Linked DNA regions of Homo sapiens: region 2 is linked to region 1. The links are contacts of gene promoters, found by promoter capture Hi-C in blood cells and fetal thymus (Javierre and others, 2016). All regions are on one chromosome and are shown on one strand. The core of a region is centred on a gene start or on the middle of the fragment in contact, and the rest is flanking DNA. Distances in the headings are between cores, read along the strand shown. Region 1 holds the start of KCNRG (potassium channel regulator). Region 2 has its middle 57 kb from the start of C13orf42.

Evidence for each region. The method cuts DNA at HindIII sites, captures the fragments that hold promoters and counts their contacts. A CHiCAGO score of 5 or more calls a contact.
Region 2: a fragment that was not itself captured here is called in contact with the fragment with the promoter of KCNRG in region 1 in 1 of 17 cell types (fetal thymus); the score reaches 6.5 in fetal thymus.

The regions. Positions count from the first base shown.
Region 1 is chr13:50,013,483-50,019,174 of GRCh38, forward strand. KCNRG (potassium channel regulator) reads left to right here and starts at 1,962. Exons shown (of 2, transcript NM_173605.2): 1 at 1,962-2,589. The coding sequence starts at 2,012. TRIM13 (tripartite motif containing 13) reads left to right here. Exons shown (of 2, transcript NM_213590.3): 2 at 1-4,985. All of the region lies in intron 10 of DLEU2 (deleted in lymphocytic leukemia 2), which reads right to left. The HindIII fragment of the contact is 12,687 bases long and covers 1-2,370 here.
Region 2 is chr13:51,051,274-51,056,965 of GRCh38, forward strand. It overlaps the pseudogene GUCY1B2. Among named protein-coding and RNA genes, the nearest start is that of C13orf42, 57 kb to the right of the region's middle. The HindIII fragment of the contact is 1,409 bases long and covers 3,705-5,113 here.

The sequences.
Region 1 (5,692 bases), core at 712-3,211:
GTAGTGATTGTTCTTCAAGCATGCAGTAAAGATCACTTTTTTTTTTTTTTTTTTTTTTGAGATGGAGTCTTGCTCTGTCGCCCAGGCTGGAGTGCAGTGATGCAATCTTGGCTCACTGCAGCCTCTACCTCCCAGGTTCAAGTGATTATCCTGCCTTAGCCTCCTGAGTAGCTGGGATTACAGGCGCGTGCCACCACGCCCAGCTAATTTTTTGTATTTTTAGTTGAGACAGGGTTTCACTGTCCCTTAAGACCATCCTGTTAGCCAAGATGGTCTTGATCTCCTGACCTCGTGATCCGCCTGCCTCGGCCTCCCAAAGTGCTGGGATTACAGGTGTGAGCCACCGTGCCCAGCCAAAGACTGCTCTTAAAGCACCTTTTTGACAGTGAACATGGTCTAAAAAAGGGAAGATATTGTAGAAGATTTCACACACACACGCGTGTGTGGGAGACAACTAAAGGTATTGAAGGTACTAATTAATTAGATTTCCAAAATTTTCTACAGAGAGTTAATTATCACCAAAATGTGAATGGTACATACAAAACCTGGCATTTTCTTGTGATAAGTTTACATTTTTAGGAGAGTGGAGCTTTCAATCTGCCCTTTTCTCCTTTGTTTTTGTAGTTTTCACCAAAGATGATCAACTAGAAATGTTAAGTGGCTATGCAAGCAAAAGCATAGATAGGTTAAAAAAAAGGATCAGCTGGCTGGGCAGGGTGGCTCATGTCTATAATCTCAGCATTCTAGGACAGTGATGTGGGAGGATTATTTGAGGCTAGGAGTTCCAGTTCGAAACCAGCTTCGTAAACATAGCAAGACCCAGTCTCTACCAAAAAAAAAAAAAAAAAAAAAAAAAAAAAAAATATATATATATATATACACACACACACACACATATGTACACATACATATATATACATATATATGTATATATAGAACACATGGCAAGAGCAGGAAATGGGAAGACTACCTTTTTTCTGGCAGCTATGTGTTGTTTTGTTCGAAAGATGGCAAGTGTACAACCAAACCAATCCACTTGCTTACAGAAAGAATGTTTAGTGTAGTTAAGACTAATTTGACAACAGATAAAACAGTCTGTCAGCTATTACAAAGTAATCAGCTGAACACTAATGCTGTTCTGTCTGCTCACAAGAGATAAAGATACCCTCTCATGGAATAAACACCTTGCTTAGAATTCATATAACAAAGAAGTAACCTTATAACTGCTCTCTAGTCTGCCTTATTTGTGTCATAGAGTAAGATATTCCTTGAAAGCCCATTAAGTGGAATAGACTTTCTGAAAATAAGAGTTCTTTACCTCAGTCCTCCTCTAATTTGGTTGAGAGGAGGTAATGAAAATGGGGACAGGATAAAAGGTGGCAACTAAATTTAAAGCACAGAAGAAATGATTTCCTTCTAGCTATGAGAATAGTCAAATTGAGCTTGCCAGGCTGTCTCATTCCTAACATGTAATTCATGATTTAGCCACTAAATTTCTAAGGAGATCATAAGAAATTAAGAAAAACGTTTAAGTCTAGCCTCTGCGTGGTAGACAGGTATGGGGAGGGAGAATGCTTTTCCCCTCCCAGTAATAAAAAAAAAAAAAAAAAAAATATATATATATATATATATATATATATATATATATATATATATATATATATATATAGTTTTACTAGGTTTTCATGGATAAGTTTTTAAATGTAAGACAGGAAAGGGATCTATTTGATGTCTATCTTCAGATATATTGGCAGTTTTCCTTAAGCTATTTAGTTCCTCATCTGTTGCTTTTTCATTTTGTATACTGCAAGTTCCCAGGCAACTCGAATTTGCAAACACAGCCATGGATACACTATTTACCTTACAGTAGTTTCCTGGGAATCTAAGTCTGGTTTTTGTTATTCTTCCCTCCCCTCCACTGCATAATCATGTATAACTAGCAACATTTATGGTTATAGGTTGATTTCCTAAGTGTGGCTGATGGTAGCCTCTAGTTTGAAGTGAGGGAAGAATGAGTAGTCAGGAACTGGTCACTTTGAATGTGGGAGGGAAGATATTCACGACAAGGTTTTCTACGATAAAGCAGTTTCCTGCTTCTCGTTTGGCACGCATGTTAGATGGCAGAGACCAAGAATTCAAGATGGTTGGTGGCCAGATTTTTGTAGACAGAGATGGTGATTTGTTTAGTTTCATCTTAGATTTTTTGAGAACTCACCAGCTTTTATTACCCACTGAATTTTCAGACTATCTTAGGCTTCAGAGAGAGGCTCTTTTCTATGAACTTCGTTCTCTAGTTGATCTCTTAAACCCATACCTGCTACAGCCAAGACCTGCTCTTGTGGAGGTACATTTCCTAAGCCGGAACACTCAAGCTTTTTTCAGGGTGTTTGGCTCTTGCAGCAAAACAATTGAGATGCTAACAGGGAGGATTACAGTGTTTACAGAACAACCTTCAGCGCCGACCTGGAATGGTAACTTTTTCCCTCCTCAGATGACCTTACTTCCACTGCCTCCACAAAGACCTTCTTACCATGACCTGGTTTTCCAGTGTGGTTCTGACAGCACTACTGATAACCAAACTGGAGTCAGGTATTTTGTACTTTGCAGTATTTCTCTTGTATACCAGTTTGTGATGTTTTCTCTAAAAACTTGAAGTTCCTCAGGCCTGTAACTTCTGGAAAAGATGATTATTCAAAATAATGTTTTGGGGTAACCAGTGGAGTTGGGTAGAATGACCAAATAATTATTTTCCAAACTGGGATACTTTTTAGAGTGAAAGGGGCTATTATTAGGTGGGACAAAAGGAATAAATGAAGACTGCCCAGAAAAAACTGAGACTATGGACATTCAAATCATGGGAGAAAATAATTTTGTAGATTATGTTCCATTGCTAATGAATTTGACTTAGAAAAGAATTGCCTTATTTTTAAGAGATTGTTTCAGTGGTTCACATAAAGGCTCGCTCACTGGTTTCTCTTGAGTTCCTTACACACTATATAAGTTGTTCTTTCAGTTTTATGATTCAACTACTGTTTTTCCTTCAGCTGACTTTATTTTTAAACACCCTTAAAGACAGATATATCTCATGGCAAATTTGGTATCCTGTTACAGCCTTGGCTCTTAAACAACTCAAAATATTGGGATAGGCTGTCAGTATGTTAAGGATAGTTGCTCCTGAGTCAATTCTTCACTTACTCCCTCTGTTGTTCTTGGCTGGATCCTAACGCTGATTTCCACTCTGCTGTCACAAACATTTTTCCCCCCGTAAAATGTCTTAATGCTGTCCTACCATTATTTTACCAACTGTGAAAGCTGGCTTTAATTTTTAGGAGGAAAAGAAAAGCCTGCATGTGTTCTTTATTGGTATCATTTAAAATATACTTTTTTTTTTTTTTTTGGTAAAGGTAGGCGTATTTTAAGATATTTTCTTAACTTGAGCAGTAGCCAACAGGAAGGATACCAGTGTCTCTCTCTCTTAGCGACACACTCCTTGGTCTTGCTTACCAACTGGAGGACACTAGGTAGAATAACCGAGTATGACAATTCTTAATTGTTTACATTTTATAACTTCCTGTCCTTCAAAAGAGTTTGAAATGTCATTTTGGGAAAAGAGAGCCAGTCAAGCTAGTAGGCTGATTGTGAAGAAAATCTAATACCTTATCTTTATCTCAAACCTCTGTACAACTTTATTTTCATTGATGGGATACTTTAACAAAAATGAAATTTTTTTTGGTTTTTAAAATATGAGTGATTATGACCTCTTTGGGGATCATGCTTCAAAAAGTCAGAAACCTAGAGACAAAACTGTCATTGATTTTTAAGAAGAAACACACTAGGTCAAAAGAAGATGTCCTGGAAATACGAAGTACTCTTTAAAAACCATGCATTTGGAGAAAGTAATTGTTTCCTTGAAAAACATGATTAAAAACTAAAACTGGGATGTTCCTGTGTGTACACAGTGCCAAATGGTTTTCCCTTTTTATGTTGTGTTTTAGAAACAGCACGAAAGTTTTTTCCATTTTAAAGTGAGAAAACATTATATTTAGACTTCCATAATTCCAAAATCAGAAGCTATTTTTAAAATTAGCATTTTCTTGCATCACCAAATGGTATTCAATTGTTTGAAGCTCAAAATTTTTACCATTCCATAAATGTTTGTGAATTTTTAGACAGTGCCAATTTAAAAGTAGAGATAGCCAATCTGAATACGGTGAAATTATGGGGATCTCTGGTGATTGGGATGAAAACTCTGGCCTTAAAAGGTCCACTTTTAGTATATAATTGCCTAATTAGCAATCATTTTTATTTTTTGCTCACTCCCTGGTCTGAATCTATCTGTCTATTCAGATATTTTTTGGTAGGTTTGGAAAATGGAGAAGTGAGCCTAATTGGTGCCTAATTGTCTGGTGTATCATTCACTTTATTCAGTTTGTTCTATCAATATGATTTACCCCTCAAGGTTAACCTAGCAGGTTGCTCAGTTATTATCTCTCAAGGTCACAGTACTAGAAATACTTGGCTTGCATCTTTCAGATGCCATTCATGTTATCAAGCTCAAATTATAGTTGGTCACAGGATTCTAAAGTCTTTATTTGACTTCTCCTTTTTGAACTGGCTCAAATGGAAAAGTGTAGTTGCTTTTAAATGTTAAAAATAAGTTTAAACTTTATATTTCCCATTGGTTTCCCCTATTTTGTCCTTTCTTTGTGTGCTTGAAATATTTTATTTTTCAGTTTGTCCTCATAGGGAATCAAGTATTTTAGCTAGGTGATGTCTTGCAAGTACGTTCCACTTTGTTACAATCTACTATCTGTATATACTATTTGTATCTTAATTCTTTTATGAGATGTTCTGTAACATTTTTCTCACTTTGACAAATGTTTTTAGACTGTACAGTCAAGATCTGGCGCTTGGGGGTAAGTGGAATGATTTGCTAATATTGAGAATCTGTTGTATCAAACATAATAAACTTTTTTTGAGATGTGCTTTGTAGTTTGGTAATTCTTAGATTTTACTATTGGTTTCTTTGCTTAGAATGAGTTTCTAAATGTGAACTACAAAAACCACTCTACTTCAAGCATGATCATTAGAAGAAGGTTAGGGATGTCCCCAAGCATCATTTTATCCCTTAAAACTACAGATAGTTTAGGTTTCTGCCTGAACTAATCTAAGTTAGCTTTTTCTTCACATCTCATAAACTAATGGTGGGAGGACACAAAGAGCTTTATGAAAACATTTTTGATGGCAGATAAGGACGGAGTCATAAAGCTGTATCCATGCAGATGTGTTATGCTGACATTATTGTTATTATTGAGATGGAGTTTCACTCTTGTTGCCCAGGCTGGTATGCAATGGCGTGATCTCGGCTCACCACAACCTCCGCCTCTGGGGTTCAAGTGATTCTCCTGCCTCAGCCTCCCGAGTAGCTGGGATTACAGGTATGCACCACCACACCTAGCTAATTTTTGTATTTTTAGTAGAGACGGAGTTTCACCATGTTGGTCAGGCTGGTCTCAAACTCCCGAGCTCAGGTGATCCACCAGCCTCGGCTTCCCAAAATGCTGGGATTACAGGCATGAGGCACTACGCCCAGCCTATGCTGACATTATTAAAGCCAACAGATAGCTAATCTGAAAAGTTCATGTGCATTTTTTTCTTTTTTTCTTTTGTTTTTTTTTTTGAGACGGAGTCT
Region 2 (5,692 bases), core at 3,159-5,658, 1.0 Mb after region 1:
AGGCAACAGGTTACAAATGATACATTTTACGTGGTTCAACCTTACTAAACTGATGTAATGGTTATTCAGAGTCCAGGGTGAGCCATAAAGCCCATAGGAAAAATGAACAGCACTTTGTAGCAAGATTCAGGCCAAGAGAATGGGATCAATTTAAGCCATAGGAACTCATTTTTTCAACAGCTCTCTTAATGGTAGGTGGGGAATTCATATAACAAACTTGCCTGTCACTGTGTGACTCAAGGTGTACTTGGGGAAAGAGAGGCCCAGAGAGGCAAAAGATTTGTCCTGGTGTCACAACCATCTGGAATTTAGAAAAAGCACCAGACTGTCTTTCTAGCCTGTCCTCCAGCTAGCCTGTCTGGCTCCCCACAGCTTTCCTAATAAAATCTAGACTTCTTAGGTGGACATACCCAGCCTCCACGACCCAGCCTCTGCACCCACTCCTCACCTCCAGCCATTTATCCCATACATCCATTCCTCCAGCTACTCAAACTCCTCTCTTCCCTGCCTTCCCACAGGCTCTGCTCCACTAGAAAAGCTCTCACTTTCCCTGATCTGGCTAACTTGATTCTTCCTTCCCAACTCAGTGTCAGAATCCCGATTCTGGACATTCTCAGCCACTTGCAGATCCGGGCGTCCCTGCTCTGAGCCCCCCGTGCTCTCTGTATCACCTGTCTTCGTGCTAACTGCGAGTGGAATTGATTTGCCCATCTGCATGCTTCCTAGACTACCAAGTTGAAGGATCATGACAATGTCATTTGATTTAATATCTTCAATACCTAGCCCTGTACCTGGCACACAACAAGTACTCAATAAATAATTGTAAGATAATTTCGGTGAGAGACCTAACTTGACAGAGGCTCACAGACTCTGTGTGTCAGGAGGAGACCTAGGAGTTAACCCTGGCTCTACCACCATCTAGCTGGATGACTTGGAGCAAATCTCACTGTGCCTCCATTTCTTCATTTTTACAAAGATAGTATTCAACTAGGTCATTGTCATGAAGACTGTCATGTCTGGTCCTCCCCTTCTCTCCCTCAGCCACCAATGATGTCTCCTTCCTTGACCTCTGATTCACTTAGAAGGATGCTTAAGGCATTTAAGCCAGCAGTTCTCAAAGTATGACCCATGGAACCCCTGCGAATACCTAAGGTGTTTTTAGGAATCCATGAGGCCAAACTATTTTCAAAACCAAATTAAGACATTATTTGCCTTTTGTACTGATTCATATTTGCACTAATGGCACATAAGCATTGGTGAGTAAAATTTGGTGCCTTATAGCATGAATCAAGACAGTGGCACAAAACTATTATATTCTTTTTTTAAATCTTCAGTATATTATTTATAGTCATCATATCCCTCATTGTCACATATGTGCAGTAAAAAAAAATGCCAGTTTTACTTTAGGTTGTTCATTTTGAGGTAGTAAAAATTACTAATGTTATGAAATCTTGACCCTGAGTATACATCTTTTGAATATTTTGTGTAACAGAATGGGAAGTACGCACTCAAATAAAGTACTTCTCCTATATGCAGGAGTGTGAATGGTCACTTCCAGGAAAAGTACTTACACGATTGAGTTATGAGATGAATTAGCCACTTTTTTTAATGGAACATCATTTCCACTTAAAAAACCACTGACAGACGAACTATGGTTACTCAGACTTGGATATTTGGCACACATTCTCTTAAGAAAATAACAAAGTTAGCCTGTCACTTCAAGGAAAATAACTGGCAGAATGTGTTGCCAATGACAAAACTCAAGTTTGGGGAAAAAAGTTGCATCTTATACTGTAAGCTTATTAGCATCCCAATCCTTAGAGGCTAAGGTGATGATGATATTGACAAATGCAATTTTGATATTGTATAGTGAAACATGTCAACATTTGTAAGATTAGCACAAGTCAGTGAGCTAATAGTTTCCAAATAACTCATGCAAGCTAGTACAAAATGATGCGAAAAAATTTCTATCCAAGTGTAACACAGATCAAGAGATTTTAATATAACAGAGTACGAAGAAGGTCATCAGTACAGTTACAGATTCAACATTATAACTGACCTTTGAGAAAATACGATTTGTCAAGCTTTTGTGAGGTTTAAAAGAATAGCCACAATTATCTGAGAAGAGTATTAAATTCTTCTTCCTTCCATATTTTCTTCACAAGTTTCAACCAAAATCATATCACAGAATACATACATTGCGGAAGATGGAATCCCACTTCCATTACTTCCATTAAGTCAGATATTAAAAGAGATTTCCAGAACTGTAAAGTAATGCCATCTTGTCATTAATTTATTTGAATAATATAGTTATCATAAAAATGTTACACTAACATGTACTATTATGTATTACAGCATAATTATATAACATATAATTATTTTAGATAAATTTAAAAATGTTTTTTTAATTTGTTTTAATTTCTAATACCATAAATACCCATAGATTAAACAAAAGCTCTGTGGGGTCTTCAATAATTTATGAGAGTATAAAGGCTTCTGAATACCAAAGTGTTTAAGAACTTCTGATTTAAATCAAGAGTGCTTCAGGTTTGCTTTGGAAGCTAATGAAGCTGAGGTTTCCAGGACAGGGAGGAAGCAGCCTCACCTGGCCCCCTCTAGCTTGAAGCCATCCCCAGCCTGAGGGGTCACCTTATATGCCCTGGTAGTGGTCCTGGATGCCTGTGGGTGGGGCTGCAGACCACCCAGTCCTCAGGACCACTTGCTTCTGGTAGACTCAACACACATCCAGACTCTACTCTAACCCCCAAAAAGGCATCTGAAAGAGAGGCTGCGCATTCCCAGTGGGGACCGCCTGGTCCAAGAGGACTTGCGTAAAAGTAGGGGAGATGGGTGGAACAGGTCGAGGGAGATCAAACGCTGGAGTTTTCCCAGGACTTGCCAACATGAAAGAAGCACACTTCAGCAAGAAACTGCTGAGAAAGTTATGGATGTGCATAAAGAAATTTGTCTAAGCTAACAATGAAAACAAAATACAATAAATACAATTTTCAGCCAGCCATGCTAGAATATTCATTCTATCCTCTTTATAGAAAATGACATTATAAAATCATTGTCCAATGAACAGAAAAAGCAAAATACAGCCAAAGATGCAGGAAAGTATTATAAAAGAGGGTTAGTTAATTTATGATACTAACAATAAAAACATGTTTCCAGCTTTTGATGTTTATGTTATCTGTCAGCTTTAAAGTTTTCTTCCTTAATTCTAAGAAGAGTACTTATTTTTGTAGCTAAATTTTTATTGGTAATTATATTCTTTTTAAAGGAGGCTTCCCAAATTATATAAGCTTCAGGCCTCGTGATATCTGTTTCTACTCCTACTAAGTTTATCTTCCAGGCCCTGCGCAGTGGCTCATGCCAGTAATCCCAGCACTTTGGGAGGCCAAGGTGGGCAGATCACTTGAGGTCAGGGGTTCGAGACCAGCCTGGCCAACATGGTGAAAACTTGTCTCCACTAAAAGTAAGAAAATTAGCCAGGTGTGGTGGAGTATGCCTGTAATCCCAGCTACTCAGGAGGCTGAGGCAAGAGAATAGCTTGAACCCTGGGAGGCAGAGGTTGCAGTGAGCCAAGATCGCGTCACTTCATTTCAGCCTGGGCAACAGAGCGAGACTCCATCTCAAAAAAAAAAAAAAGGAAGAAGAAAATTTATCTTCCATATAGTCATACTAAACAAAAGTATTTCTCAAGCTTTACCTTTGACAGCTTTTGTTAGAAAAAAATACTTCTGCTTTGTATATTTAATATTATAATATTCACTATATTTTTAGAATTTCCCACAGATATTCTCATATGATCTTTTGGAGGCTGAGTCCTCCAGGTGAAATGCTCTGACCAGATTGATTTCTAAGGGCCCTTCTGGCTCTGAGGGGCTGTGGTTTCAGGCAGCTAGATGAACCAGCAAAAATGTTTGTGGCCAGGAAAGGGACAGAAGTGGGGAGACAAGCAACATTTTTGGATCAAAGTTAAAAATAAAAACTCTCTGCTTTCAGCTACTTTTAAACTAGACTTTATTTATGGGAAAAGTAGATAACATGGAGGGCCAGGGGTTTTCAGTCTTGAAGAGAGGGTGAGAAATTTGGTGAGTCAATTGGATGGACGAGGGATAGCAGAAAAGGGAATGAATGAATTCTGACTTTTTCTGGCTCAATTAGCTTTGCGATATACTGGGCTCGAAGGAATGCTTCTCAGGATGTCACAATGTTAACAGCCTTTTTTTTTTTTTTTTTTTTGAGATGGAGTCTCACACTGTCACCCAGGCTGGAGTGCAATGGAGCGATCTCGGCTCACTGCAACCTCCGCCTCCCAGGTTCAAGCGATTCTCTGGCCTCAGCCACCCAAGTAGCTGGTGTTACAGGTGCTGGACCACACCTGGCTAATTTTTTTATATTTTTAGTAGAGACGGGGGTTTCACTATGTTGGCCCGGCCAGTCTCGAACTCCTGTCCTCATGATCTGCCCGCCTCGGCCTCCCAAAGTGCTGGGATTACAGGCGCGAGCCACTGTGCCCGGCCAGCATTTCCTATTTAGCAAGAACAAAAATCCCAAGGATTCATAATCAGGGTTCCTTGATTTTTTTTAGATTGTAGAGTTCTTAGAGATTCTGATGAAAACTATGAACCCTCTCCCCAGAAAATACATATAGTCACATGTACACGACATTTTAATAGATGACTTCGGAGGGTTCTCAGACCTTCTCAAGCCTATCCATGAACCTTTGGTTAAGAACCCATGACATAGAGAGAAGCCATGTAATCCCACCCACCTCTCTCCTAAATGGGTTGGTTGGGCTTGGTAGTCATCCATCCACCTCTCATTCATTTATTCATCTTCCATTCATACACACATGAATCATCCAATCATTCATTCCGTTTTCATGTATTTATTTATACAATGGAGAATATACGTCAGTCCTGATGGCTCTACCCATTACCTCTTCTTAGAGACCCCACCCTCCAAAGTCCATCTGAATGGGATACATATGGACTCCAGACCAAAGACCATCAAACCCTCTTTCTCAGGCATCTGCAATTGAGGCACTGAGAAACTGAGCCAGTCTGATGATGGTGATCTCTTGAATCCAAAGGGCATATAGAAAAGCTTGGAAGAAACAGAAATTAAGTCCAATCATGGTGGCATATACCTGTAATCCCAGCACTTTGAGAGGCTGAGGCAAGAGGATCACTTAAAGTCAGGAGTTTGAGACCAGCCTGGGCAACAAAGCAAAAGCCTGTCTCACCAAAAAATAAAATAAGATAACCAGGCACAGTGCCATGTGCCTCTTATCCTAGCTACTCAGGAGGCTGAGGCAGGAGGATCACTTGAGCCCAGGATTTGAGGCTGCACTGACCTATGAACATGCCACTGCACTCCAGCCTGGGTGACAGAAAAAAAAAAAAGGAACAGAAATCAAAAGACTTTCAGAGAGAAGAGATAACCAGGAAAATAGAGTAAACGTGAAGGGAGATGCAGAGTTGGAAACAGACCTGCTGACTTTCTGTTTCCTCTGAGATTTATCTGTACTTCCTGCAATTGAGTTCTGTTAGAGTCTTCTGAATCTTTATAGTAACTCCTTTAAACATTAGCTTACATAGTGGATTGCTGATCCTTGGAAGTAAAATCCTGGACTAAGTTCTGCAAACAAAGTGCCAAGGGGATGTTAGCCACCTCACCTATG